Regions from separate parts of the Homo sapiens genome. Here region 1 is linked to region 2. Evidence: promoter capture Hi-C in human tissues and cell types (Jung and others, 2019). All regions are on one chromosome and are shown on one strand. The core of a region is centred on a gene start or on the middle of the fragment in contact, and the rest is flanking DNA. Distances in the headings are between cores, read along the strand shown. Region 1 overlaps AVEN (apoptosis and caspase activation inhibitor). Region 2 holds the start of CHRM5 (cholinergic receptor muscarinic 5).

Evidence for each region. The method cuts DNA at HindIII sites, captures the fragments that hold promoters and counts their contacts. A contact is called where the count stands out against the background at its distance.
Region 1: a fragment that was not itself captured here is called in contact with the fragment with the promoter of CHRM5 in region 2 in 2 of the 25 tissues and cell types used here (H1 embryonic stem cells and mesenchymal stem cells).

Annotation. Positions count from the first base shown.
Region 1 is chr15:33,888,773-33,891,955 of GRCh38, forward strand. All of the region lies in intron 2 of AVEN (apoptosis and caspase activation inhibitor), which reads right to left. Among named protein-coding and RNA genes, the nearest start is that of CHRM5, 78 kb to the right of the region's middle. The HindIII fragment of the contact is 5,335 bases long and covers 1-3,183 here.
Region 2 is chr15:33,966,957-33,970,023 of GRCh38, forward strand. It overlaps CHRM5 (cholinergic receptor muscarinic 5), which reads left to right and starts at 1,541. Exons shown (of 3, transcript NM_012125.4): 1 at 1,541-2,194. The region is part of intron 2 of AVEN (apoptosis and caspase activation inhibitor); the gene reads right to left. The HindIII fragment of the contact is 2,452 bases long and covers 129-2,580 here.

The DNA of each region.
Region 1 (3,183 bases), core at 509-3,008, 78 kb before region 2:
ATGGAGTCTCACTCTGTCACCAGACTGGAGTGCAGTGGCGCGATCTTGGCTCACTACAACCTCCGACTCCCTGGTTCAAGTGATTCTCCTGCCTTAGCCTCCCCAAGTAGCTAGGACTACAGGCGCATGCCACCACGCCCAGCTAAAGTTGGCCAGGATGGTCTCAATTTCTTGACCTCGTGATCCACCTGCCTCGGCCTCCCAAAGTGCTGGGATTACAGGCATGAGCCACCACACCCAGCCTGGAATTCTTTTTTGCTATTTTCATATAACTCAGGTGAGATGTACGTCTTACAGATATTTTAAAATTATTATTTTAATTTGTATATACTTGAAAATATCTTTCAGAAAATTATCATTTAATATTTTGAACATCTTCCAGATTTCTAAATACAAACATGAAAAATCTATTAACAAAATCATAAAAATGGGCATCTTTTTTGACTGCTGTACTACAAAGACTTTAAATGACATATAAATTCAAAAACTCTAAAACCACATTATTCAAATAATGCTAGTCTTTTAATCTCTGTCAGTATAACAAAACCTTTTCCCACCAATGCCAAGATCATTTCTGTAAGTATCCAGCAGATTTCTTGCTTTTATTGCTCTCCCCACTGTTGGCTTGTGAGTCTGTTCTGTTTGTTTTTGTGCACACTATGAGCTTAGCTGAAAACTCTAAAATAATATTAGACTAATTAGGACGTCCATAATGTCCCTTGAATACACCTGTCTGACACTACAATGTAAATCTTAAGTTATCTGTTTCTCTGCCTCTTCCCCCTCCTATTCAACCCAATGGACATGAAATATGTTTCTGCACAAAAAAAAATACGCATCCAACTTGCCTTCTCATCTCATTAGGTTTTCTTTTATTTTTAGTTTTGAAAAACAGTATTCTACAGAGCTGTGATTTAAATGGGCAAATGACATACAGAGTAATTTGAATTTTTAAATGTTTTGTTTAGCCTTCCTGTCAAAAATTAGAGCAAATATGTGCAATCTGATTTTTATTCTTTTTCAGGTCATGTCCTTTGAGACTAACGGAGCAGCTGTGGCTTCTTGTCACAGCATACATTTATAGAAAATCGGGCATACCATTAGAGGGGAGACTCGAAGCTTGGTCCTGAAAATGATGTGCAAACAAATGTGCTCTCCACCAATGGGGTCAAGGTACGGCAAGGTAGATACAAACCCTACATTCTACCGATTCCAAACTTCACAGAAAACCAAGTGGCCACAAGGTGTCAAGGCGAGTTCCCTCTCCGACGTGCCAAACTGATCTTCTCTGGAGATGTTTGTGCATCACTGATAGTGTCTAGGTTTTTGTTCATTGATGCAAAACATTTTTTGGTTTTCTGGTTTTTTTACTTCCTCAAGGGATAATACACATTATATGTTCAGTAGTCTGAGGTATATAGTGATCTTATCTTAGTTGGGGCTCGATGCTGCCTAGCTCCACACAAAGCCAACATGATTTCTGCAATGTACACATCTTCAGTAAAGCACTGTTAACTGTCAGAGCCCAGTTTTTATTACTACTCTTGTGACTGGTGCGGTGCCTGGCACACAGTAGGCAGTTAGTAAATGTGCATTTAGGAAGGAGGGAAATAATAATGCGTAAATATATGCATGCAAGAATAAATGAGCAAACGAACAAGAATACAAGGCTAAACAAAATCAACAAATGAACATCAGTAGTCTATGTGCCATAAAGGGGATAAGGAAACAGAGAAATAAGGGGGGAAATCATGTTACTTTCATGAAGCTTGCCAAAAGTATAGGGCAAAAATGTAAAATACAGAATTCTGTTTGCAACCAGAAATTTCTAGTAAATCAAATAACTCAAATAAGAACAAGTGGGAAGGAGAAAAAAATGGCAGAGATCTTCAATTAGAATTTTCTTAAACCACTCTCAAAAAGGGAGAAAGATGAAAAGAAACTAAGGATGGATCTCAAAATGTAATATTCCAGCAATTACCACTATCCAAGACAAGTGAACAGTGCAAACTTACTAGCTGATGAGCTATGAACATGACCATTACAAAGGTAAAACTGGCCAAGCATGGTGGCTCACAGCTGTAATCCCAGCACTTTGGGAGGCTGAAGAGGATCATGAGAGCCCTGAAATTTGAGGCCAGCCTGGGCAACATAGTGAGAACTCATCACTACCAAAAATTTAAAGAATTAGCGGAGCGTGGTGGTGCACATGTGTAGTCCCAGCTACTTGAGAGGCTGAGATGAGAGGATTGCTTGAGGCCAGGGGGCGAAGGTTGCAGTGAGCCGAGATCACACCACTGCACTCCAGCAACAGAGTGAGACTCTGTCTGGAAAAAAAAAAAATCCTAAAAGATATACTAAAATGTCTGGCTTTTAAACATTCCCCTTGTTGGTAATAAGCAAGCTTTAGAAATTTATCCCCACAGAAATTTTGTTTTATATTGTATTAACTATTTTTTAATGGTTTGTTTTTATTATACTTTAAGTTCTAGGGCACATGTGCACAACGTGCAGGTTTGATATATAGGTATACATGTGCCATGTTGGTTTGTTGCACCCATTAACTCGTCATTTACATTAGGTATTTCTCCTAATGCTATCCCTCCCCCAGTCCCCCACCCCCTGACGGGCCCTGGTGTATGATGTTCCCCTCCCTGTCTGTGTCCAAGTGTTCTCATTGTTCAGTTCCCACCTGTGAATAAGAACATGTGGTGTTTGGTTTTCTGTGATAGTCTGCTGAGAATGATGGTTTCCAGCTTCATTCATGTCCCTGCAAAGAACATGAACTCATCCTTTTTATGGCTGCATAGTATTCCATGGTGTATATGTGCCACATTTTCTCAATCCAGTCTATCAATGATGGACATTTGGGTTGGTTCCAAGTCTTTGCTATTGTGAACAGTGCCACAATAAAAATAGGTGTGCATGTGTCTTTATAGTAGAATGATTTATAATCCTTTGGGTATATACCCAGTAGTGGGATGGCTGGGTCAAATGGTATTTCTAGTTCTAGATCCTTGAGGAATCACCACACTGTCTTCCACAATGGTGGAACCAATTTACACTCCCACCAACAAAGTAAAAGCATTCCTATTTCTCCACATCTTCTCCAGCATCTGTTGTTTCCTGACTTCTTAATGATCGCCATTCTAACTGTCATGAGATGGTATCTCATTGTGGTTT
Region 2 (3,067 bases), core at 291-2,790:
TCCACTGAACTCTAAGTCACATTCAATCATTGAAATGGCTTAATAATCAGTGGCTTAAAACTTGGGGTATTTATTATAGAAGTGACCAGTATATAATGACCAATCATTACCATATGAAATTACAATCCTTTTCAGTATCATGCAATGTTAAGTGGGAAAAGTTCAAGAAAATATTCTAAAGATATGTTCTCTTGCATAAATATTCCTATTACAAATGTGTGTCAAAGACCACTATAAAACTAAAATTCACTTCTTTCTCATACATGTTCATCTGTCAGTGTTTAAAATTCTATTGGCTAACAATTAAAGTGTATACTTTGTCTGGATTCTCACTCAGAAAAAACCTACATAAAGACATAGTTTCTGAGACACAAGGAATTTAAAATGAACTGGATATTATATGACTCCAGAGGATTATAGCCAATGTGTTAGGTGTGATAATGGCACAGGGTCATGTGAAAAAGTGTCCATACTTTAAAAATATACATACTAAAGTACAAATAGGTGAAATGAGATTTGCTTTAAAATATTTTAGCAAAGAATTGAATCTGACAATTGTTGAATCTTGGTAATGAGTTTCTGGAGGTTCATGTATTATTTTTGTATTATTTTTCAGAGTTTTGTGTAAGTTTGAAATGTTCCATAATAATTTTTTAAAATTTAAAAACATTATATTGTCTAGATACACTCATAAAGAACTCAGGCAGGGAAAAAACGTTTAAATTTAAAATTTAAATTTTAAACTGAAGTGCAGTTTTAAAAATTTGAATTTTAAATTTAAAAACTGAAGTGCAAAAATTATGAAATTGACATTTAAAAATCTATTCTTTTATACAGCTAATATGGATTTCATCTAACTTAAGGAAAAGCTTTAATGAAGACCCTGTTAAAAGTTTGTATCAAATGAGGACTTATAATGCTTTACTCCAAAGCAACAAAACGCATATGCCCAAAAGATGTATAAAAACAGGCATACATTTAGGAAAAAAAAAAAAGGCAGCCTTTTCTCTGCTACAAATATTTAAAACTCACAGTATACTCTTTCTATCTCAAAGACTTTTAAAAATTATTTTCCATCTTTAGGGAAAACCATATGAGAAAATAACTCAGCAACATGTCTGTGAATAATGCCTAGCAAAGCTTAAAAAAAAAAAAAAAAAAAAAAAAAAGCTTCTAGCCAAAAAGACTAACAGGAAAAAATGAACATTTTCAAAAGCATTTTGGAACCTTATTCCAGCTACCTCCATGCTAAGCCCTCTTTTTCCTCCCAAAATACGTCACTTAACTGTCTGTCAAATAACTCTTGCCCATTCTACCTGATCACACTCTGAAGCTGCAGCTTTTCCTGGATTCTCTTCTCAATGACAAGCTGTTCAAACAGAGAACACCTATCAAAACGAATATCATCATCTGCTCCTTTCTTTCTTCCTTTCAGGATATACTGCTGTCCAGCAGGGGAAGTAATTAATGAGTTTTTTATGTATGGCAGCGTCATCCCATCAGTTTGCTGTCTGGTTTGAATAGCTCCTATCAGCTCTTCATTCATGCCAAGTACGCTCACCGTCCAGAGACATGATAAAGCCGTACTTCCTTCTGGATTTTTACCTCACTATTCAAAAAACAGGGTACCAGAAGCATGGGTTACAAAAGCATGAGGAGGACAGAAGAAATGCCTTCATCTTCTACAGAAAGGAAGCTGATGGACTGAAAAGTTCGTATGGAGAAAGGAAAGCAAGAGTGCAAGAACATCCATGCTTCTAGTCCAGATAATGTTTTTTAAAGCAGCTTGATTTGGAAGCGTGTGTAATTCTGAAATACGAACAAGCAGAACTTTTCCAGGGGGTCAAATGCATATAGGAACAACCAGGATTTCTCATTGCTGAAGCATTCAATGAATCTTTAATAAGTTCTCAACACTCAGATTGTTTGTGATCAGATCAACTGCTGTTACCAGATAAAGGCAAAACTCACCCTTCTGGTTCTATAATCCTATCCAAATGGAGTCTTCATCTACCGCATACTATCCTAACTAATGCTACAGGATTATCAGGAATACAGATATAAAGACACTGCAAGAAATAAAACACTGGCAAAATAAAACATGAAAGGAAAGTAGAGAAGGCATTTTGGGTCTCGAAGCTTACTATTTCCAGCCAGAGTTCAAATTACTGAGCTTCAAACAAACCACTGCCAGGTAAGATTTAATTTTATAACCTTAATTTATATCTTGTCTACTGAAATTAAATCTGCTCGTGCTGTGAATGAGATAGTGGATTTGAATTTCTTGCAACCCTTCCTTAAGCTTTTGCAGATTTAAGCTGAGGTAAACGCTTGTTTTTACTTATGCTGCATAAACAAGTCACTCAGAACTAGATAATAAAGCATCCAAAACTCCCATTCATTTTTCATTGAATTTGTCTCATCTTTGTCTTTATTTTTATCCCAATTTTGTTTTATTTAATAGCTTGAAAAAAATGCATGAAGAGAGCCCTGAATGGTGCATAAGAGCCATTCACAGATAATGTTTACCAACAATATTCAAATGAACTTAGTTTCCCAGAGTACTTGATAAAACAAAGAAAAATTAATAAGCATTTTAAATATTTTTATTCATATAAAGGAACAAAAGCTCAATGACTGATTTCTATTGTTACTAAGAAAAAAAAGCTGTGATGTCATTTCATTCATACTAAAGAAAAATAATCTCTACTAAATCGAGGTATAACACTCTTGTAGGATAGGGCTAATTTATCCTAAAGATACTAGACATTTTTATAACAGACTAAATGAAGACATTTTTCTGATTCAACAAGAGGATAAAAAGATGAAAGATGTCTGGTACCTTAAAACCTCAAAAGCTTTGACTCAGGTCAGTGGTCCAAACTGTAAAATGCAAAGCACTAGTGAAGCCATCAAAGGATTTTAAAAGATACAGTGCCTTTAAGAAATTCCCTAGAAATCACTGCATAATGAGACTTCTAGAGTGACAATCTTATGTAAAAACAACAAAACGTTATCATTTAGCAGAAATCCCAACCACATTGGTTTTCATGAGTTTCATTGGAAA